Regions from separate parts of the Homo sapiens genome. Here region 2 is linked to region 1. The links are contacts of gene promoters, found by promoter capture Hi-C in blood cells and fetal thymus (Javierre and others, 2016). All regions are on one chromosome and are shown on one strand. The core of a region is centred on a gene start or on the middle of the fragment in contact, and the rest is flanking DNA. Distances in the headings are between cores, read along the strand shown. Region 1 holds the start of SPATA4 (spermatogenesis associated 4). Region 2 holds the start of NEIL3 (nei like DNA glycosylase 3).

What was found. The method cuts DNA at HindIII sites, captures the fragments that hold promoters and counts their contacts. A CHiCAGO score of 5 or more calls a contact.
Region 2: the fragment with the promoter of NEIL3 here is called in contact with the fragment with the promoter of SPATA4 in region 1 in 8 of 17 cell types (non-activated CD4 T cells, naive CD8 T cells, naive CD4 T cells and 5 more); the score reaches 15.2 in non-activated CD4 T cells.

The regions. Positions count from the first base shown.
Region 1 is chr4:176,193,528-176,198,809 of GRCh38, reverse strand. It overlaps SPATA4 (spermatogenesis associated 4), which reads left to right and starts at 3,225. Exons shown (of 6, transcript NM_144644.4): 1 at 3,225-3,465; 2 at 5,228-5,282. The coding sequence starts at 3,248. The HindIII fragment of the contact is 1,203 bases long and covers 2,533-3,735 here.
Region 2 is chr4:177,306,839-177,312,120 of GRCh38, reverse strand. It overlaps NEIL3 (nei like DNA glycosylase 3), which reads right to left and starts at 2,247. Exons shown (of 10, transcript NM_018248.3): 1 at 2,012-2,247. The coding sequence starts at 2,167. RefSeq lists an enhancer at 2,077-2,166 and a silencer at 2,247-2,366. The HindIII fragment of the contact is 15,817 bases long and covers 1,629-5,282 here.

The DNA.
Region 1 (5,282 bases), core at 1,976-4,475:
GAAACTTGCACCAGGAGTGCTAAACAAACAAACCAACCAACCAACCATACTGGAGACTGGAACCAATTGCCCCGGCCAGGTGAAGCTTTGTTGCCATGGTTACACAGGGGCTTGAACAGCAAGCAGAGAAATAGCAAATCCCTGCTCCCCACCTCCTGGCCACTCTCTCACTCCCCATATTGGCAGAATTTACCATCCACCCAGCAAAGGAGAAAATGCCGCAGCGTTCCAACTCCGGCATCACAGAACTGAGAACAGAGAAGGGAGTGTTTCTAACAGGGATGTATTTGCTTAACAATTGGCACACTGATTACAGGAAGATTTCCAACTCTTTAGCAAAACTGTTTACAATTAAGCCCCAATCTAGCTGGGCGTGGTGGCTCATGCCTGTAATTGCTGCACTTTGGAAGGCCAAGGCTGGAGGATTGATTCCTCAAGCCCACAAGTTCAAGACCCGTCTTTATAAAAAATTTAAAAACTGACCAATCATTGTGGTTTGCACCTGTAGTCCCAGCTACTTGGGAGGCTGAGATGAGAGGCTGGGGTGGGAGGTTCACTTGAGTCCAGGAGGTCAAGGCTGCAGTGAGCCCTGAGCACGCCACCGCACTCCAGCCTGCGCAACAGCATGACTCTGTCTCAAAAACAAAAACAAATAAACCCTAACCTATAGATCTAACCTACCTCTCTAGCCATTATCATCTAAACCTTTGGTTGACAATGTCTCTTTGGTTGATAATGCCTAAACACTTTCTCTAACCCTAATGGGTTCTGTTCTTTCCTAAAACTCATTTAAAAAACCCCTCATATTTCTATGCAATTGCTCCCATTAGTCACTCTGTGTGAGATTGCCCCTTCATCATCCAAATAAATTTCCAAGATCACCTTTGAAGCAATCATCTATGCTTACTGAGCACTACGTGCTGCACATTGTTTTAGGCTCTTTATAGATTTCACTTATTTAATCTCTACAGCTCTGTGGTGTATCCTATTTATTTCCATATTTTACAAATACAAATGTTAAATAACTTGCCCAAAGTCATATAGCTAATAAAAGGTAGTGTGAACCCAGAAACTCTGAGACAGGTCTCAGTTAATTTAGAAAGTTTATTTTGCCAAGGTTGAGGATGAGCACCCGTGACACAGCCTTAGGAGGTCCTGACATGTGCCCAAGGTGGTCAGGGCAGTTTGGTTTTATACATTTTAGGGAGACATGAGACTTCAGTCGACATGTGGAAGATGAACATTGATTTGGTCTGGAAAAGGTGGGACAACTAGAAGCAAAGGCAGGACAACTCAAGCAGGGAGGGGGCTTCCAGGTCATAGGTAGATGGGAGACAAATGGTTGCATTCTGTTGAGTTTCTGATGAGCCTTTCCAGAGTAGGCAATCAGGTATGCATTTAGCTCAGTGAGCTAAGCGGTGACTTTGAATAGAATAGGAGGCAGGTTTGCCCTAAGCAGTTCCCACTTTGACTTTTCCCTTTAGCTTAGTGATTTGGGGGAGGTGGGGGGGGTCCCAAGATTTAATTTCCTTTCACAGTAGAAATGGCTATTCAAAGCTTTCATCTTAAAAATCAGCTTAAAATACCACCTTCTAAGATCCAAATTAATGGTCATCTCTTTTGAGAGGACTTCTTACACTCTCCCAGGCCAAAGTATTTGCTTCCTTTCTGGTGCTAACATATTTTTACCATGGCAGAGCTTTTCAGTGTATGTAATCTTTTCACTGATATTTCTATCTCTGAATCTCTTATAAATGATCTGCCGCACAGAGCTGTCCAATCGAAATTCCTGTAGTGATGGAACAGTGCTGTGTCTGTCCTACCCAACATGGCAGCCACTAGCTACATATGGCTATTGAGCAGGTAAAATGTAGCCAGTGGAACTGAGTTTATTTAAATTTAAGTTTAAATAGCCACATGTGGCTAGTGGCTACCATATTGGATGGTAAAGATCTAGCACATACTCCAGGATAGTTCCTCAGAAAAGGTTTACAGAATGAATGAATCATTCATTAAAACTTTTTTAGCCTAACAGAAAACACTTACATAGCTTCAGTTTTGGTTTTCTTTTTTAACCACATACAGAATACACTGGTTTACTTTATTAATAAGCATGTATATGAATAAACATTAAAAATATTACATAGTATCATTATCAAGATCTATCCCATATTTTACCATGTGTATGTATCCACAGGGCCTGTCACCTGGCTCTCTGCAGCCTCAAGTTCCTGAGCTCAAGCAATCCTCCCACCTCAGCATCTGGAGTACTTGAGAGTACAGGTGTGCACCACCACACCCAGCTATTTTGTTTGTTTGTTTGTTTTGTAGCGAAAGTCTCTCCACCTTGTGTTGCCCAGGCTGGTCTTGAACTCCTGAGCTCAAACGATCCTCCCGCCTCCACCACCCAAAGTGCTGGGATTACAGGCATGACCCACTGTGCCCTGCCAAGCAAAAAAAAACAAAAAACAAAAAACAAAAAACAAAAAACTGTGGCTGTAAAAATTTTTAATGGATTTTAATAATTAAGCTTACATATTTATAATTGCCTATGCCAACTTTGCAGTTGTTTTCATTGTGTTCAGATAGATCCCAAGTGACTAGATGAATGCGTGGCACATAATATGGACTCAATACATATTTGTTGAATTAATGAAGGAATTATGCCTACTAGGAGATTTTAATTAAGTGTGAAAATCTAACCTACACATCGTTTTCAAATATTAATGTTTACAAATACTTAATGCAATAATTAAGGAAATAGTTATGTTAAATTTTGTGGACATTCATTTCCATTTCAAAGATTTTTTTCCCCCATCTCTTCCAATTCCCAAACAAAAACTGTCCTTGGCCTCTGGAGTCTTCTCACACCACTCCTCAAACTAGACGACTGAAAATAGGCCTTTGGCTGGGCAGAAACCAACAATATTTAAAATACAAAACTTATGAACGATGACATAAGAAAAAAAAAGCTCTAAATAGGTTAACAGTGAGGCCAACTAAATCTGAGACTGAAAGCGCTCCCCAGACCGCAGCCACACCACTGGGACCCCAGCTTTGCCTCCCTCGATACCCGGCCCCGCGGTCCAAAATCTGAGTAAAGCGGAAGTACGGGCGGCTGCTGCGGCGCTTGCGCAGGCGCTGAGGTCTCGCCCCATAAGACTCCGCCCCGCCCCACGAGACCGCGCCGCCAGCAATAAGGCCCAGCCCCGCCTTCTGCTGTTGCCGCAGCAACCCAGAAAGCGTCATGGCTGCCGCCGGCCAGGAAAAAGGGTATTTGACACAGACTGCGGCAGCCCTAGACAAGTCACCGTCACTTTCGCCACAGCTAGCAGCTCCCATCCGAGGGAGGCCTAAGAAGTGTCTGGTCTATCCGCATGCGCCGAAGAGCTCCCGCTTGTCTCGTTCCGTTCTGCGTTGGCTTCAGGGTCTGGATCTCAGCTTCTTCCCCAGGAACATCAACAGGTGCTTGAGTAAGCCAGTCCTAGGCCCCCCCGGTGGGCGCCCCGCCTGCTTTCCGCCGCCTGCCAGGCCTCAGATTGCCTACCCTGGCCTGGCTTATGTTTCAAATCAAGACCCCCCCACCCACGTACACACACGAAAACACTATTAGGGAACAAGGCTTTAACAAAATACCACGATACATCTTGTTTATTCAATTAATCAACCAATCATTAAATTGTGGACAATATAGAATGCTTTGGTGACTACAAAAATATTAAAATAGTCAAAGCTTTTTCTTTAGTGATATTGGGCATTAATACTGGTAAGGACGGCCGGGCACAGTTGCTCATGCCTGTAATCCCAGCATTTTGGGAGCCGAGGCAGGCGGATCACCTGAGGTCAGGAGTTGAGTAACAGCCTGACCAACACGGTGAAACCCCGTCTCTACTAAAAAATACAAAAAATTAGCCCAGTGTGGTGGCGGGTGCCTGTAATCCCAGCTACTGGGGAGGCTGCAGGCAGGAGAATGCTTGAACCCGGGAGGCGGAGGTTGCTGTGAGTCGAGATTATGCCGCTGCACTCCAGCCTAGGTGGCAGGGTAAGACTCTGTCTCAAAAAAAAAAAAAAAAAAAAAAAAAAAAAATACTGGTAAGGATCAGTTTACCCTTTGTCGGAGATGGCATCTAGTTTGAGAGTTACCAACAAGTTTTTAAAGTTGCTGCTTAATTGTAGGCACTTTGTATGTAACTGGCAGCTAATATTTGCTCTGGGAATGCAAACTAAATTCTATAAAAAGGCAATGAATCTTTTGCAGAACTCTGGTTTAAAGTAGTCTCTCCTTATCAGAGAGGCATAGGTTCCAAGATCCCCAGTGGATGGCAACTGTGGATACTACAGAACCCTCTGTCAGAACACATTTCTGTTTATGTCTTCCATCCACAAATTTAATGCCTTTTTAAAAATCTTAACTAAGCACTTATCACACACTGTGGCTGAAAGTTTTTCAGTTTGAGGTGTGATGCCGAAACTATCAAGAATTTCTTTTTCTTCATATTTCAGGAATATGATTCATTCCTACCATTGTAACCATTCTTACAACTTTCTATTAAGTCAAGAACTTTCATCTTTTCACCTAAAGGAATAATTTTATGGTTTCTCTCTGGCATATCTGAATCACCAGCATCACTGCTCTTGCACTTTGCACACAAGCGCACCACACTGTACAGTTGATCTGATGACTAAAAGGTGACTGATGTCTACAACGTGGAGACTCTGGACAAAGGGAGGACTCACATCCTAGGCAACACAGAGCAGGCAGGGAGGTTTCATCAGACTGCCCAGAACAGAGTACAATTTAAAAGTTACAAATTATTTCTTGAATTTTCCATTTAATATTTTCCGACTGTGATTGACCCAAGGTAACTGAAACTGCAGAAAGCAAAACTGCAGATAAGCGGGGGACTAGTTTACTAATTTGTCTTCAGTATTACTTACAACCATGCCTCTGAAATTTTAAAGTGCATATGAATCACCTGGGGATCTTCTTGAAATGCGGATTCAATACAAATTAACAGTTTGGGTTCATCAAAAGAACACCAAAGCCTTTGAAACGTAGATAATCTTAGCAAAATTCCACAGTAGGTTCTCCTTAGAGCAACGATCCAACAACACTCACTTTACAAGATACTTTTAGTATGGAATATTAGACTAGTATTAATTATAAAATAATACAAACTGCATAATTAACTACACTTTATTTCATTTCCTAATTGCCACGGATCAGAGATTTTTCAAATGGCTTCCTAATTGCAGAAATATTCTGTATATATTACCCCTGG
Region 2 (5,282 bases), core at 998-3,497, 1.1 Mb before region 1:
GCCATACCATCAGAGATAATCACAACAAAACTTAAAAGGAAATGTTTAAGCTATTTTTCCTAAATACCAATGAGGTGATATTTATTTAAAACATTAGGTTGGACTCTCACAGCAGAAAGCATATCCTACTCATCTTCGTATCCGCAGGAGCTAGCATAAAACCTAACACAAAATACGTTGTGGTTGAATGATGTAAATGATGATATCCCTAAGTATATTCATGTCATATCCATTGCTTAGCCCTCCCATCATAGTGATTCTCTTGTCTTCATCTCCACCACCAGCACTTGACCCCAAATTTGTCACCTGGATTTCTGCAGTCGACTCCTAAATGAGAGGGCAGTGTCTACTCTGGCTTTCTTTCAGTCTTTTTCCTGTTCCAATCCCTGAGCTGCATGGCTTCTACTCACCCTGCACACCTCAGCTTTTTTTTTTTTTTTTTTTTTGAGACAGAGTTTCGCTCTTGTTGCCCAGGCTGGGGTGCAATAACGCGACCTCAGCTCACTGCAACCTCCACCTCCTGGATTCAAGCGATTCTCCTGCCTCAGCCTCCTGAGTAGCTGGGATTACAGGCATGCACCAGCATGCCTGACTAATTTTTTATTTTTGTAGGGATGGAATTTCTCCATATTGGTCAGGCTGGTGTTGAACTCCCAACCTCAGGCGATCTGCCCACCTCAGCATCCCAAAGTGCTGGGATTACAGGCATGAGCCACTGCACCCGGCCCACACCTCAGCTTTGCTACTTCCCTGGGGAAGCCTTCCCAGGTCTTCCTACAAGTCCTTAAAGAATCGTGTATCTCTCCTTCACAGAACTTATTAATTTATATTTCTTTAGGTGATTATTTAATGAATGTCTTTGTGTCTTCCCAACTGAAGTATAGGCTCCAAAAGAGGAAGTATTTGTTTTTGCTCCCCAGGTGTCTTGAGTATTCAAAATTTTATTGAATGAGTAATTTTCATAAATATTAATATTCTTAAGAAACCATCTAAAATCCATCTCTGTGGTACCCTGAAACGATTTTAGAAACACTATAACAATAATAAAAAAAAATAGGTACAGAGTACTTACTGGCATATCAAGTCAAAATAAACAAAAGGGCAATTGGAAGGAGATGTAAAACTTATTTTTTCCCAAGTTTGAAAATATATTTTCTTAGACTTAGAACCTCATTTCTTTCAAGTTGTAAGCATATGCTAATTTCATAGCAGGCAACTTTTTCTTCCAGGACCAAAGGCTATAAGAAGCTTTGCAGAAGAAATTGAAATACAGTGCAATATTGCATGTAGGCATGAAATACAATCATCCATACATCTAGAGGGCTTTTAAAACATGATGCCTTAATCAGAATATTTTTAGTACAAGTTCTGGCCAAATGAATACCACATCGTCTGCAATGAATGCCTGAGTGGCAAGAAGCTGTGCTAGTTTACTTTAAAAAGAAATAAATTCACTTAAGGGAACCAGAACTGGGTTTCATTGCCCCTTAATTAGATGGCAATATGAAGTTGAGTGAGAAGTTAGTGCTAAATTTTCTACGTGTAGTTTTAGAATTATATACTAGTTGTGATATACTTACCAATTGCAGATTAGCCAAGCAAGAAAGTAGAATTTTATGCTAAAAGCTTAAAATGGGACGAAGAAAACATATCAGAGGTAGCAGAGATTTGATAATATCAATAGTAAAAAATGCAGCTGTAGACATGGGAAACCATGTGTGTATCATAAAGAAGTTAAGTAAGGTGACTCGGATAAAACACCTTCACTGGATTCCCCTAGGGCATCTTGCTCCGGCAGCGTGAGCCCAGAACGCTAGCCCTCCTCTCCTGCGCAGGCGCGCTAGGACCGACTTCTCCCTACAGTAAAGTGACGATAAACTCTGTGAAAGGTGGGACCCCAGGAAACCTGGGCCAGAGCAAAGAGATGACACTTTAAATCCTGGAACCCTGATGGGGTCTTTATTCCATTTCCCCCCTGCTGACTGCATGGCCTGTTACAGGAGTAGCTCACCTGCGGGGAGACCACAACCGTGGAGGCTGCGAGCCGCAAGGCGCGGCCCTGCAGACTCCGCAGAGCGCTTCCCCGCACGCCGGTCACCGCCTGGCCCGGGAGCACCCGCGCGCGAATCTTCTCTCCATTCAGAGTACAGCCTGGTCCTTCCACCATCTCTGTGGCCGGCACTGTGGCCCACCGATTGCAGGGCCTGGTGAGAATACCGCTGTGCAACTCAACGCTGCGCGGGCACTGACCGCACGCAGAGGAAATTCAAATCTCGCGCGCGTCTGGCCCCGCCCAGGCCCCGCCCAAACAGCACCCTAGCTGTTGAGGTCGCTCCCTACGGCGCATGCGCTGTGGTTCACCCCCGCCCTAGGTCTTGCTGTGGGTTTATTAAGAAAACGCAAACGCGCGTGGGGCGGGGGGCGTGGAGGACAACTAACTAGGCTGAACTGTAAAAGCAGAAGAAATTGGGACTTGGAAAGCTCTGAATGTATTTTCTTTGCGTTAAAGTTTTGCCCTTGTCTTTGAGCTACTTAGTATACACACATTTTCTGATCTGGTCCTCTTAATCTGTCCTTGTCTGTGACAGGACAGATATGTCACAGACAATCTTGTTTTTGGCTCTGTTTTTGGCATGCTATATTCGGACGTGGGTGGGATAAGAGAAACGAAGAAGAGGGTTTTTGGAACAAACAGCAGAATATATTCTAGTGTCTATATTTAAAAACTCCATTATTAGATAGTTAAGTGAGCCCTACCTAAGTGCATGCATCCATTTTGTAAGGGGACGCCCCAAGATGAAAGCTATATGAAATTGCTTTGTTAAACGTAGAGGTTTATATAAATTTGAGGGTAATGCGTAGCTTTTCAAATTTACCCACAACCCTAACCAAAGATGCATGCATACATATAAATCTATGAAGTTTATGACTCCATATAGTTTTGTAAATTATAAAGTGTATTCTTTTTTGAAAACTGAAATACTACACATTAAAACAGAATGTCAATTTCTAAGTGATTTCATAAGCATAGCACTGTGCTGCCGTTAAACCACAAGAGCATATACACAGGTGGTTGCTGACTTAGGATGCCCCAGCGTAACAGTGTTTTGACTGTATGATGGTGCAAAAGTGACACACAGTAGAAACTGTACTTTGAGTACTCATATAGCCATTCTGTTTTTCATTTTCAGTACAGTAGTCAATAAATTATTCAACACTTTATTATAAAATATGCTTTGTGTTAGGTGATTTTTCCCAACTGTAGGCTAATGTAAGTGTTCTGAACACATTTAAGGAGGGCCTCGTGAAGCTATGATGTTTGGTAGGTTAGATATATTAAAGGCATTTTCGACTTACTGTATTTTCAGTTTACAACGGGTTTATCAGGACATAACCCCATCGTAAGTTGAGGAGCATCTGTATACTAGAGAGTTGAATTTGAATATACTGAAGACTTGATTGAAATTTTGAAAAGTATTAAATCTTTCCTTTGCAGGGAGAGATTAGTGATCAAAAGTTGGCTGGATCAATTTCAGGACTATTTGTACTTTACTCCCTTGTTCAATTCAATAATCTCTGTCCTTTGATGGAGAAAAGTCCTATATACCTTCTCCTCTTTCAGCGTTGTACTAGTTATTTATTGTTACCTCATCAATTATCCCATTTGTTATTTCAAAGTTTCTGTGGGTCAGGAATTTGGCAATAGTCTAGCTAGCCAGAGTCATCCTGGCTCAGCATTTCTCAAGAGGTTACAGTTAAAATATTAGCCAAGGCTAAAGTGCCCCAAAGGCTTTTTGTAGCTAAAAGATCCACTTCCGAGATGAGTCACTTGCATGGCTGTTGGCAGGAGGCCTCAGTTTCTCACCTCTTGTGTCTCTATAGTGCAGCTCGGCTCTTCTAATGACATGGCAGCTGAGAGTGTGATCCAAGAGAGAAGTCAAGGAGAAAGCTGCAATGCCCTTTATTACTTAGTCACCCTTTATTACTTAGTTTACTATGGTAACTTACTTCTTATTCCATTCATTAGAAGCCAGTCATTAAATACAGTGCATTCACAAGGGGAGGGGAATTAAGCTGTGATTTGAAAGGAGGGATATCAAAGAGCTTGTGGACAAATTTAAAAAATATCAACCTGTTCATTTATCTGATTCACCTCATTTCTCTTTAAGGTGTTGTGTACTGTGCACATTTGGGTCAAATACGATCTTTAATTAGTAAGAGTTGGGGACTGACACTGAAGGCATTAAGAGATTTCACTGGCGTGACTGAAAGGCGGAGTCAGATTTTGTTTTGTTTTGTTGGCTGGAGTGCAGTGGCCTGACCTTGGCTCACTGCAACCTCCACCTCCTGGGTTCAAGCAATTCTCTTGCCTCAGCCTCCGATGTAGCTGGGATTACAGGCACCTACCACCACGCCTGGCTAATTTTTGTATTTTTAGTAAAGACGGGGTTTCACCATGTTGGCCAGACTGGTTTTGAACTCCTGACTTCAAGGGATCCACCCGCCTTGCCTCCCAAAGTGCTGGGATTACAGGCATGAGCCACTGCACCTGGCCCAGATTTTGTTTATATGTGACTAGCCTCTGAGTCCTTTGGTATATCTCTTTGATCTTGCTTCTTACGTCCAATCAAAAGCAAACTCGCATACGCTGTGTATCTACATTGTCTGTAAAAAGAGCCCACAACATTGCAAGCAAGCCTACCCTAGTGCAGACCCTTGCTACATTTCAGCTGGACTATGTCAGGATCCTGCTAACTGCTATCCTCCTTGAATTTTCTCTTGTGCACTCTTACCAGAGGAACCTTCACAATTTCTTCTTAAGTCCAATTTACTAATTTCAGTAAATTTGCTAAATCTATTAAATTGTGCTATTTGATAACCATATATATATATGTCATTTATCTTTTCCAAAACTCACTTTCTTCATATGGACAATAAATAATACTTTTTCTATACACCTGCATATGATTGCTCTAATTTCCATACACAACATAGCTTATGTGAAAGCACTTTGAAAACTATGAATACTCTACGAAATTAAGATAAATTGTACTTATTCCCAGAATATATTTTGTACCTTTTGTTTTTTGGCTCATGCTATTATTCTCACCTTTTCTTTTTTCCAAGACAGAGTCTAGCTCTGTCTCCCAGGCTGGAGTGCAGTGGCGTGATCTCAGCTCACTGTAACCCCCACCTCCTGGGTTCAAGCAATTCTCCTGCCTCAGCCTCCCGAGTAGCTGGGATTACAGGCACCCAACACCACCCCCAGCTAATTTTTGTAT